Regions from separate parts of the Homo sapiens genome. Here region 1 is linked to region 2. Evidence: promoter capture Hi-C in human tissues and cell types (Jung and others, 2019). All regions are on one chromosome and are shown on one strand. The core of a region is centred on a gene start or on the middle of the fragment in contact, and the rest is flanking DNA. Distances in the headings are between cores, read along the strand shown.

Region 1 (6,426 bases), core at 2,122-4,621, 630 kb before region 2:
GGGATGCAGAAGACCACCTACCTCAGACAGTGGCTCTGATGCAGTCTCTGGGTTCCGGAGGCCGTCCCTGGGCATGGGGGTGCTGCCGCTGTCCCCCCGCTGGCCCACGCTTAGTGCCTGCTCCCACTTCTGCAGAGCTTCCTCAAACAGCTCCATGCCTGAGCACAGGTGAGGCGAAAAGCGTGGGTCAGCACCTCCACAGTCTCACCCAAGAGGGGGCTCAGAACATCAAGGAGGCAGGAGGGCCTTGAAGGGCAAGAACTGGGTGGGACCGTGTGGCCTGGGCTGCTCAGGTTCCAGGCCTTCTTTCAGACCAGGTTTGTTCCTAGACACTGTCCCTTGTTCAGAAATGGCTGGAAATCACCCAGTTGGGATTTGGGGCAGGGTAGTGAGGGGCAAAGTGACCCAAGACTGGCCAAGCTCCTAGGAAGGGACTGTTCCTGCCACCCACCCTGCCCTCGAAGCTGAGGCACCTCCTGGCCACACCTTGCATGTACAGGCTCTCTGCATTGCCGTCGCTGGTGGTCAGAGACTCCTCCATCCCTCTGGCATCCCATAGTCCCGAGCACGCGGCTGTGGGGCTGGATGAGTTCACTGCCATCATCTGGGCGCCAATCAGTGCAAGAAGAAAGAGTGAAGCTTTCCCGGGCTCTCTGCAGGGCCCCCCTGAGCCCTCCTCCACTGCCTGACCATGGGCCACACGCCCCCTCCAAATGCCATCCCTGAGCTTGTTCCTAGCCACAGCGTCCACACCCTCAGAATGGCCTGGACCCACAAACTGCCTGATGGTGCTTCATAGAAAGAAGCCACCAAAGCAGGAAGGAATCCTGAGACCAACACCCAGCCCAGGAACCTGGGAATCCCTCTGAGCCCTGCTCCTGACTGCTGTATCCATCCCCTATGCCGGGGCTCCTCTACCCCTTGAACAAGAAGACAGAGAGTACCCATTCTGTGCCAGGGTCCTGCCTCTCATCCACACGAGTGGCTGGCAGCCCCAGGACAAGAACCAGCTCTTGCTTGCCCCTGTGCCAGCCTGGCTCATAGCTGGGACTCTGCTTGCTGGATGAGTGAATGAACCAAAAGCCACACCCCAGAAGAAGCCAAGCTTCTGCCTTGTTTATCTCTACACCTCCAGTGCCTGACAGAGTCCCTGGTATAACGCAGGTGCTTGTCAGTGGCTGATGAATGAATAACCTGCACTTTCACAGGTACAGGTCTCCCCAGGAGACCATCAGTTTCTCTCCTCTGCACCAGCCCACCTTTCTCCCACCAACACCTGGCACAGTGAGTGATTAGGGACAATCCCTGAAAGCCCGCGTGGGTGGAGGAGTGAGAGAGAGAATGAATGAATGGACTCTACCAGTCTATAAGCTTGCTGAGGGCAGAGTCCTCAGCAGGGGTAAGCCCGGACCTGGAGCCCTGGAGCCCTGGCACCTGCTGCTCACCGAGGCCACACTGTGGGAGGAGCCCGAGTGCTTGCTGGGCTCAATGGAAGAGATGCCACTCAGGGTGTCGTTGCTCTTGCTGCTGGGGCTCTGGACTCTCCGGCTGGAGTATCCTGTGAGGAGCAGAAGGGCAGGCGTCACACAGGCATCCCCTGTGGCCTTTACACGGGCTGCCCCCACTCTGGACCACCTTCCCCTTCTTCCTCATCTGGGAATCGGTCCCGACCTTCTAAGTCAGGGGAACAGAGGGGCCCCAAGGGCGTGCACTCAGGAGAAAAGCGCGGGGCCCTCCATGTCCTGCTCATGACCACATCCCTGCCATATCCCTGCCACAGGGCACAGGGCCAGGCCGAGGAGAGGAGTCCCGATCTGCCAGATAAGCCAAGAATGAGGTCCATCTGCTTTCCCGCCTCCTTGCTTAGCCTTCTCTGGGCTGCTGATTGAGAGAATGGTTTAGAATTCTCCTTGCAAAAGAGATGTGAGACGACAACTTTTAAAAATATACAAAAGGCCGGGCACGGTGGCTCACACCTATAATCCCAGCACTTTGGGAGGCCGAGATGGGGGAGGACTGCTTGAGCCCAGGAGTTCAAGACCAGCCTGGGCAACATGGCGAAACCCTGTCTCAACAAAAAATACAAAAATTAGCCAAGTGTGGTGGCGTGGCCTGCAGCCCCAGCTACTTGGGAGGCTGAGGGTGGGGGATCAATTGAGCCTGGGAGGTCAAGGCTGCAGTAAGCCATGATCGCAATACTTCATTCCAGACTGGGAAGCAGAGTGAGACCCTGTCTCAAATATATATACATATATATATATAAATTTTTTTAGGATGGGCTGGGTGGATCATGTCTGTAATCCTAGCACTTTGGGAGGCCGAGGTGGGTGGATCACTTGAGGTCAGGAGTTCGAGATCAGCCTGGCCAACAAGGTAAAACCCCATCTATAATAAAAATACACAAATTAGCCAGATGGGGTGGCGCACGCCTGTAATCCCAGCTACTCAGGAGGCTGAGGCAGGAGAATCGCTTGAACCTGGGACACGGAGGTTGCAGTGAGCCAAGACTGTGCCACTGCACTCCAGCCTGGGCAACAGAGCAAGAATGTCTCAAAAAAAAAAATTTAATGAAATGCACCAAAGGTTATTTTTTAAAATAGAGACAGGGCCGGGCACAGTGGCTCACACCTGTAATCCCAGCACTTTGGGAGGCTGAGGTCAGCAGATCACATGAGATTAGGAGTTCGAGAGAAGCCTGGCCCACGTGGTGAAAGCCTGTCTCTACTAAAAACACAAAAAATTAGCCAGGTATGGTGGCACCTGTTTGTAATCCCAGCTACTTGGTAGGCTGAGGAGGAGAATCCTTGAACCCGGGAGGCAGAGGTTGCAGTGAGCCAAGATTGCGCCATTCCACTCCAGCCTGGGCGACAGGGTGAGACTCTGTCTCAAAAATACAAAACAAAATAGCCTGGGCACAGTGGCTCATGCCTGTAATCCTAGTACTTTGGGAGGCCGAGGTGGGTGGATCACCTGAGGTCAGGGGTTCAAGACCAGCCTGGCCAACATGGAGAAACCCCGTCACTACTAAAAATACAAAAATTAGCCAGGTGTGGTGGCACACGCCTGTAATCCCAGCTACTTGGTAGGATGAGGCAGGAGAATCGCTTGATCCTGGGAGGTGGACGTTGCAATGAGCTGAAATTGTGCCACTGCATTCCAACCTGGGCAACAGAGTGAGACTGTCTCAAAAAAAAAAAGTAAATAAAAATTAAAAAATAATAATAAAATAAAACAAAGAAAGCCGGGTGTGGTGGCACGCACCTGTAATCCCAACTTTTGGGAGAACGAAGTGGGCAGATCACCTGATGTCAGGAGTTTGAGACCAGCCTGGTCAAAATGGTGAAACCCTGTCTCTAGTAAAAACATAAAATTAGCCAGGCATGGTAGCACTCCCAGCTACTCGGGAGGCTGAAGCATGAGAACTGCTTGAATCTGGAAGGCGGAGGTTGCAGTGAGCCAAGATTGTGCCACTGCCCTCTGCCCTAGGCGACAGGGCAAGACTCTGTCTCCAAAAAAAAAAAAAAACAGAGACAGGGCCTCCACATACCACCCAGGCTGGTCTCAAACTCCTGGGCTCAAGTGATCCACCTGCCCCAAAGTACTGGGATTACAGGTACAAGCCACTATACATGGCCAATATTTTGTTAGAAGTGAGAAAAGTAGGGAAGGGAAAATAAGGTGAAATGAGAGCAGGCAGAGTGGGACAGGGCACAGAAGCTAAACGCTGTGCAGATGACTCCAGGTTTCCCAGGACAGACACAAAATTAGGCTGCCTGAGTGTCTCTCAGGGTCCTCTTCCATATTAGTCTCAAGACTTCTTGTTCCAATTCTAGGCCGGGCGCAGTGGCTCACACCTGTAATCCCAGCAATTTGGGAGGCTGAGGCGGGCAAATCAGGAGGTCAAGAGATGGAGACCATCCTGGCCAATATGGTGAAACCCTGTCTCTACTAAAAACACAAAAAATTAGCTGGGCGTGGTGGCACGCACCTGTAGTCCCAGCTACTCAGGAGGCTGAGGCAGGAGAATTGCTTGAACCCGGGAGGCGGAGGTTGCAGTGAGCCAAGATGGCACCACTGCACTCCAGCCTGGCGACAGAGCAAGACTCCGTCTAAAAAAAAACCAAAAAAAAAAAAACAAAACACTTATTTTTCCAATTCTAAAGATAATACTTTCCTTTTGCAACAATAATACACAATTAAAATTTATTTTCACAGGAGACTTTTGCTTCTTATTTTTTTAACAGAGACAGCGACTCTCTATGTTGCCCAGGCTGGTCTTGAATTCCTGGCCTCAAACAATCCTCCTGCCTCCCAAATTGCTGGGATTACAGGTATGAGCCACCACACTCAGCTAATTTATGTTCTTTCTCTTTTTAAAAAAAAATTATTTATAGAGACAGGGTCTCTCTATGCTGCTCAGGCTGGTCTCAAACTCCTGGACTCAATAATTCTCCCGACTTGGCTTCCCAAAGTGCTGGGATTACAGGTGTGAGCCACCACACCCGGTCTACTTTTGCTTTTTTTTTTTTTTTTTTTTTTTTTTGAGACAGAGTCTTACTCCATAGCCCAGGCTGGAGTGCAGTGGTGTGATCTCGGCTCACTGCAACCTCTGCCTCCCGGGTTCAAGCGATCCTTCTGCTTCAGCCTCCTAAATAGCTGGGATTACAGGCATGCACCCCCATGCTTGGCTAATTTTTGTATTTTTAGTAGAGAGGGGGTTTCACCATGTTGGCCAGGCTGGTCTGGAACTGCTGTCCTCAGGTGACCCGCCCACCTCAGCCTCTCAAAGTGCTGAAATCACAGGCTACTTTTGCTTCGTTTTTTTTTTTTTTTTGAGATAGAGTCTCGCTCTGTCGCCCAGGTTGGAGTGCAGTGGCACAATCTCGGCTCACTGCAAGCTCCACCTCCATAGATGCCTGCCACCACACCCGACTAATTTTTGTATTTTTAGTAGAGACAGGGTTTCACCGTGTTGGCCAGGCTGGTCTCAAACTCCTGACCTCGGGATCCGCCTGCTTTAGCCTCCCAAAGTGCTGGGATTATAAGCATGAGCCACCGCGCCTGGCCTTACTTTTGCTTCTTAAAACAAGTTTCAGCTGGGCACGGCGGCTCACACCCATAACCCCAGCACTTTGGGGGGCCAAGGCGGGAAGATCTCTTGAGGCCAGGAGTTTGAGACCAGCCTGGCCAACACAGACCAGCCTGGCCAACACAGACCAGCCTGGCCAACATGGTGAAACCCCATCCCTACCAAAAATACAGAAATTAGCTGGGTGTGGTGGCTCATGCCTGTAATTCCAGCTACTCGGGAGGCTGAGGCAGGAGAATCGCTTAAACCCAGGGGGTGGAGGTTGCAGTGAGCCGAGACTGTGCCATTGCACTCCAGCCTGGGTGACAGAGTGAGACTGTGTTTCAAAAAAAACAAGTCTCCCAAGATGAGAACTCCTGGCCTTGCAAAGAGATCAAGACAACACTTCAATGCAGCAAACACCGGGTCTGTATTACAAGATTAACAGGAGCCGTAAGAGTTTTTACAACCACAGCAGCAGCCACAAAATAGAGCAGTGGCTACCAGAGCTGACACAGAAGGACACAGGGCATTTAGAGAGTGATACAACGATAGAACAGTTCTTTTTTTTTTTTAAGACTAGTTAAGTGTAGTAGTGAGAAGCTGGGAAAAAGAGTAGAAGAAGGGGCCAGGCACGGTGGCTCATGCCTGGCTCCCAGCACTTTGGGAGGCCAAGGCGGGTGGATCACGAGGTCAGGAGTTCGAGACCAGCCTGGCTAACATGGTGAAACCCCAACTCTACTCAAAATACAAAAATTAGCCGGGCGTGGTTTCATGCACCTGTAATCCCAGCTACTCGGGAGGCTCAGGCAGGAGAATTGCTTGAAACCGGAAGGCAGAGGCTACAGTGAGCAGAGACCAGACCACCGCACTCCAGCCTGGGAAACACAAGCGAAACTCTGTCTCAAAAAAAAAAAAGCCGGGCAGGTTGGCTCATGCCTGTAATCCCAGCACTTTGGGAGGCCGAGGCAGGCGGATCACGAGTTCAGGAGATCAAGGCCATCCTGGCTAATACAGTGAAACCCTGTCTCTACTAAAAATACAAAAAATTAGCCGGGCTTGGTGGCACGCACCTGTTGTCCCAGCTACTCCGGAGGCTGAGGCAGAAGAATCGCTTGAACCCGGGATGCAGAGGTTGCAGTGAGCCAAGATCATGCCACAGCACTCCAGCCCGGGTGACAGAGAGTGAGACTCCGTCTCAAAAAAAAAAAAGAGTAGAAAGATGGCCGGGGCCGGGTGCGGTGGCTCACACCTGTAATCCCAGGATTTTGGGAGGCTGAGGTGGGCGGATCACTTGAGCTCAGGAGTTCGAGAGCAGCCTGGCCAACGTGGCGAAATCCCGTCTCTACTAAAAATAC
Region 2 (6,314 bases), core at 3,791-6,290:
TGAGCTGAGATTGTGCCACTGCACTCTAGCCTGGGAGCCACAGAGCAAGACTCCGTCTCAAAAAAAAAAAAAAAAAAAAAAGGCTGGGCTGGGCTCAGTGGCCCATGCCTGTAATCTCAGCACTTTGGGAGGCTGAGGCGGGCAGATCACCTGAGGTCAGGAGTTCGAGACGAGGCTGACCAACACGGAGAAACCCCGTCTCTACTAAAAACACAAAATTACCCAGGCGTGGCAGTGCATGCCTGTAATCCCAGCTACTCGGGAGGCTGAGGCAGGAGAACTGCTTGAACCCGGAAGGCAGAGGTTGCAGTGAGCCAAGATCACGCCATTGCACTCCAGCCTGGGCAACAAGAGCAAAACTCCATCTCAAAAAAAAAAAAAGGGCAGAAAAGAGATGAGGTCTTGCTATGTTGTCCAGGCTGGTCTCGAACTCCTGAGCTCAAGTGATTTCCCCTCCAGCCTCAGCTTCCCAAGACTTTGAGATTAGGGTCTGAGTCACCTTGCCTGGCCATACCCAAACTCTTTCTAGTAACTTTCATCTTGGCTGGGCGCGGTGGCTCACGCCTGTAATCCCAGCACTTTGGGAGGCCGAGGCGGGCAGATCACGAGGTCAGGAGATCGAGACCATCCTGGTTAACACGGTGAAACCCCATCTCTACTACAAATACAAAAATTAGCCGGGCGTGGTGGTGGGCGCCTGTAGTCCCAGCTACTCGGGAGGCTGAGGCAGGAGAATGGCTTGAACCCGGGAGGCGGAGCTTGCAGTGAGCCAAGATCGGCCACTGCACTCCAGCCTGGGCGACAGAGTGAGACTCTGTCCCAAAAACAACAACAACAACAACAACAAAAAACCTTTCATCTTAAAAGTAACCACTGGCTGGGCGGGTGGCTCACACCTGTAATGCCAGTACTTTGGGAGGCCGAGGCGGGTGGATCACCTGAGCTCAGGAGTTTTGAGACCAGCCTGACCAACATGGCAAAACCCCGTCTCTACTAAAAATACAAAAATTAGCTGGGTGTGGTGGCGGGTGCCTGTAATCCCAGCTACTCGGGAAGCTGAGGCAGGAAATCATTTGAACCCGGGAGGCAGAGTTTGCAGTGAGCCGAGATCACACCAAAAAAAAAAAAAAAGAGAGAGAAAAGAAAACTCATGACCCAAAGTTGTAACTCATGGGTTAACAGGATGAAATGCAGAGTAGGGAAGGGCATGGTAAGCAGCTGGAATAGCATGTGCAAATGTGCAGAGGCCTCCAAGGAATGCTAAAGGAGGGCTGGTCCTCACCAGCAGCCTGGCAGGCATAGGCGAAGACGATGATGTCGTCGAAAGGCCAAGTGTAGTTGGGATGTGGCGGGTAGAAAGCAAGCTGGTCTGCCCCTTCAGCCCGCAGGGATGCAAGGAAGGTGGAGTGGACCATGGGGACACGGAAGCAGCCCCGGCGCTGGCGGTTCTTGGTGGGGAAGTACTCGGCTGTGCGGCGGTAGTAGCCCTGGGGAAAAGGGATGCTTTGGGCTGTGAGAGGGCTCCCCTGCCCCTGCCCACAGACCCCAAGGCCTCAGGCTCTCTGCTCTCCACGTCCCTCCTTCCAGGACCTCAGTCCACCCAAGGCCCCCATCCCGGCCTCACCTGGGGGGTGATCCCACACCAGAAGTTGGAGTAGTAGGTCTGGGAGTCCAGCATTGGGGCCACCACTGGAAGCCCCTGCCCCATGAGAAGCCGCAGAGTCTGATTGTTGGTCAGAATGTTGTCTGTGTCTGCAAACTTTGAGGAGGGGACGTCACAGGCTCCAGCCCTGCCTGGGCTGCAGCCCCCCAAGGAGTTCACTGAGTGGTCCTGCCAGAGACCCAGCGTGGCTCCTAGGATCCAGTGGGAATGCTCTTACAGAGGTCTCACAAACTCAGTACATCTGTTTCTGGACCAAGGCTCTAGTCTGGGGCACTGACTCAGGGACTGGGTCCAGAGATTATACCTGAGTTACTGATCTAAGACCTTTATCTGGGATCTGGCTTAGAAAATGGATCCAAACACCTACTCTGAGCTCTAGTTCAGAGATCCAGGCTCAATTTATACCCTGGGCTCTAGCCCAGAAATCGAGGCTCAGTAAAGTGTATACAACGGGATCTATCTGAGGGGTCCAGGCTTAGTACCTAGTCTGAGCTTTTAACATAGGGATCCAATCTGAACATCTGGTCTGGGCTCTGGCCCAGATAGCCTGCCGAAGGATCCAGCCTTCGGGTGGGTCAGTCACATTCAGATTTCTTTTTCTTTTTTTTTTTTTTTTGAGACTGAGTTTCACTCTTGTCACCCAGGCTGGAATGCAGTGGCATGATTTCAGCTCAGTGCAACCTCTACCTCCCAGGTTCATGCCATTCTCATGCCTCAGCCTCCCAAGCAGCTGGAATTACAGGCGCCTGCGACCACGCCCAGCTAATTATTGTATTTTTAGTAGAGATGGGGTATCACCATGTTGGCCAGGCTGGTCTCGAACTTCTGACCTCAGGTGATCCACCTGCCTTGGCCTCCCAAAGTGCTAGGATTATAGGCGTGAGCCACTGCACCCAGCCTATACCCAGATTTCTATCAGGGACGGATACTACCGCCTTTCAGAAGCCCGATTCTAGCCAGACTTCCTCACCAGGATATAGTCGGCCCCCCAGTTCCTGGCAAAGGTGAGGGCTTCCTGCTTCAGCTCCATCAGAAACTGGTGCCTTTCTTTGGTCCAGTGCTTGGGACCCTCTTCATCTGGGTAGAACCTGAGGGGATAGAGGTGAGATGTTCCCATGGGGTACATGCCCCTCCCTCTCTGCAGGGCAGTGGACAGAGCCCTGGCTTGGAGGCTGTGGCTCTGGGCTGTCCCTTTTCCTCTCTGGGCTGCAGCTGTTCTCCATCTTCCCCAGCACCCTTCCCCTCAGATCACCACCTGGGCTCGCCCTCAGGCCTCCAGACCACAGCAGCATAGTCATCGCCCACAGCCGCCAGCCACTCCTGCAGCATCTCTGTGGTGTTGTCCACATTGTGGTCCGTGGCACACCTGGGGACGGGAAGAAAAAAGGCTGAGGGGGCACAGCCACAGGATTGAACCCCAAGGCAGCCTTGACCCCAAAGCACTAACACCTTTGAGGTCGAGCTCTCCTTGGAACAGTGAAGGGTAGGTGTGCTACAGCAGAGAGGCTGGAGGCAGCACAGCCAGGTCCCCACCACAGTTCTGTGACCTGCTGTGTGACCTCAGGCAAGTCCCATCTTTCTCTGGGCTTCACGTCCTCCCTCTATAACTTAAGCTGTCCTGCTTATGTCATGGACAAAGATAAGAGAAGAATAATGCATTTTTTTTGAGATGGAATCTTGCTCTGTCGCCCAGGCTGTAGTGCAGTGGTATGATCTCGACTCACTGCAACCTCCGCCTCCCGGGTTCAAGTGATTCTCCTGCCTCAGCCTCCTGAGTACCTGGGATTACAGGTGTGCACCACCATGCCCGGCTAATTTTTGTTTGTTTAGTAGAGATGGGGTTTCACCATGTTAGCCAGGCTGGTCTTGAACTCCTCACCTCAGGTGATCTGCCCACTTCGGCCTCCCAAAGTGCTGAAATTACAGGCGTGAGCCACCACACCTGGCCAACGAATGCATTTTGAAAGATGAAAAGTACCTCGACTTTAAGGATCACACCTGGTGCATTCCCTGGTTACCTTCGTTAGGTGGGCAGATACCTACCTATGTGACCTGTGGCTGTGTGACCACAGGCCAGCCCCTGTCCCTCTCTGAATGGGGACTAGACAGAAGAGCTGCTGCTTTCCTCCACCCCCAGGTTGTAATAAGGACCAAACCATGCTCTAAGCGTCCCTAAGAATGCAGATGGGTCCAAGCTCTGCTGTCATGGGGCACAGCCTCCCCTCTCCTGGGGAAGGGGCCCCCATAACAGAGGTGGGGGTTTAGCCAAGTGCCCAGGTTTTGGGTGATGCTGCCCCTTTAAGCCAATTCCCCAGAAATGAAGACTACGTGTCAAGTCTTACAGGGGTGGGAACTAACAAACTCCCAAACTGTGGTAATTGTGGGCGGCCTCCCCAGGCCAGGGCTCCACCCCCCCAGCCCAACTGTGGTGTGTTGAAGAGGGTGGCTTGTCATTTTTCTCAGTTTACCCCCAACCTCAGCCAGGGACTCCTCCCTGTTCTGGTGTCTACAGACCAGGGGTTGTGGCCTTCGATCCCAGTGCCCTGGGGGTACAGAGATGCCAGAGGGGAGAGGCTCCAGGAAGGGGGACTGCCCTTGGCTGACAGGATCCCGCCCCTCTACCAAGATCTACCAAGAGAGCTGGCCCCAGCACGGGGGCGGTGGGGGGGCCGGTCTGACTCCCCTGCACAGCCCGGAGCCCAGTGCTGATGGCACCCCCAACCTGTGCCCGGAAGCCTCCAGCGTGGTCGATCCCTGCCACGTTGGGCCCCAGTGGACTTCAGAGGTTCCTGTCTGCTCCTCTTCAAATCCAGCCAACCACAGGTCCCACTGGGGTTGAGCTGGGCCCTGAAGGCTGGGGTGAAAAGGGCTGGCTGGGCCCAACCTACACCCAGGGAAGGCCCCAAGAGGAAGGAGTAGGGGACCAGAAGGAGGGGTGGGTGTCCCGCGTCGGCCTGTGGCCTCAGAGGTCTGTCGTCTCCCAGCAGGGGGCTCGGGGTCCTCTCTGGCGGCTCGGGCTGGCAGGGCCGTCTGTGAGGGGAGGGGCCTGTCTAGGTGGTGTCTGGGCAGGGAGCGAGCAGACAGGGCCGCCGGGGGCGGGGGCCATCTGCGAAGCTGGGGGTTAGGTGCCCACTCGGTGCCAATGCCCGGGTCTCTCACCAGAGGGCCATCCTGGCCCGGGGGTAGTCCAGCCGCTCCAGAGCGCCCAGGTAGTGGGGCAGCGAGTGTTCGGCATTGCGGGCCAGGATGGCAAGGACCACGGCGGGCAGCGGCGACTCCGCAACGCCCGCAGCCTCCAGCCACGGCCCCAGCAGGAGCAGCAGCTGGAGCAGCGGCGCGGCGCGGGCAGCGCGCATGGCGGGCGCTTGGGCGGCTGCAGCGGCCCCCGGAGCTCTCGGGCCGGCCGAGGGGAGGGGGCGGGGCCTGGGGCCCGGGCGGGGCCGAGGCAGACCCGGAGAGGGCGGGGCAGTGCACCCTCAGAGTGGGATCCTGCTCCCCACCCCTGTGCGTGGATGCTCAAGTTTTCTCTCCTTGGCCCGGGGCACCGGAGGGCCAGGGCCCGGGGACCCGCGCCAGCCGCGACCCTGGAGCAGCCCCGCCCGGCTGGACCCCGGAGGGGCGACGGCGGAGGGGCCGGAGGACCGGACAGGGGAGGGGTGCTAGGACGAGTGCGTCGGGGCCGGCCGGGCGTCCGAGAACAGTAGGGGCTCATGGAACCCCTGGGCGTTGAACCCCCGGAATCCGGATTCCCCGGCCCACGCAGCCGACTCTTCGACCTGAGCCGCAGACCCAGAGGGGCGGCGCCCACTCGGCCACCACCTCCCGGGCTTCCCCGGCTCCCGCCCCATCCTCCGCCCCGGGCGCCCTCTGGCGGCCCTGGCGCTAGCTCCGCAGACCAGCCGGGCCACGCGTGGGCCGGAGACCCAGCGTGGGGGGCGCAGAGGGAGTCCCCCTGAGCTGGGCGCGTCCTCCCGCGGCGGTCCGCTCCTTAAGTCCCCTGTGCGTCACCTCCTTGCGTCGGTCGCCAGCACCCGCATTGCTTCGGCCCTTTAAGAGAGCACAGCCAGGCCGGGCGTGGTAGCTCACGCCTGTAATCCCGGCACTTTGGGAGACCGAGGCGGGAGGATCACCTGAGATCAGTTCAAGACCAGCCTGGCCAAGATGGTGAAATCCCATCTGTACTAAAAATACAAAAATTAGCCGGGCGTCGTGGCGGGTGCCTGTACTCCCAGCTACTTGGGAGGCTGAGGCAGGAGAATCGCTTGAACCCGGGAGGCGGAGGTTGCAGTGAGCCGAGATCGCGCCACTGCACTACAGCCTGGATGACAGACCGAGACTCCGTCTCAAAAAGAAAAAAAAAAAAAGAGCACAGCCCTCACAGCCCTCTCTTGGTCTGAGTGTAGAACTAGGGGACACCACGGAGCTGCTCACTGCGACCCGACCCGTCCGTCCTCCAAAGCAGGGGATGTTGGCTCCCCTGGAGCACCGCCGGGGTCCTTAGGACCCTGCTGGGAGGGAAAGAACTCTGCAGCCTCTCGGGAGAGGAGCAGAAAAGGGAGCGGCCTGGCGGCACCACAGATGGGATCGAACTGGGTGTCTGTCACCAACCTCAGACAGGTCCCTTTCCCTCAGGAGCCTCTCGGGTAAAATC

The links. Contacts are between HindIII fragments. The study calls those that stand out against the background at their distance.
Region 1: a contact is called between a fragment that was not itself captured here and the fragment with the promoter of CERCAM in region 2, in 1 of the 25 tissues and cell types used here (lymphoblastoid cells).

Annotation. Positions count from the first base shown.
Region 1 is chr9:129,043,559-129,049,984 of GRCh38, reverse strand. It overlaps MIGA2 (mitoguardin 2), which reads right to left. Exons shown (of 16, transcript NM_001329990.2): 4 at 1,446-1,558; 5 at 487-604; 6 at 22-158. Among named protein-coding and RNA genes, the nearest start is that of MIGA2, 10 kb to the right of the region's middle. The HindIII fragment of the contact is 4,265 bases long and covers 1,239-5,503 here.
Region 2 is chr9:128,419,583-128,425,896 of GRCh38, reverse strand. It overlaps CERCAM (cerebral endothelial cell adhesion molecule), which reads right to left and starts at 5,040. Exons shown (of 13, transcript NM_016174.5): 1 at 4,823-5,040; 2 at 2,919-3,029; 3 at 2,634-2,751; 4 at 1,625-1,759; 5 at 1,283-1,487. The coding sequence starts at 5,019. RefSeq lists an enhancer at 4,305-4,494 and a silencer at 4,755-5,654. The HindIII fragment of the contact is 34,497 bases long and covers 1-6,314 here.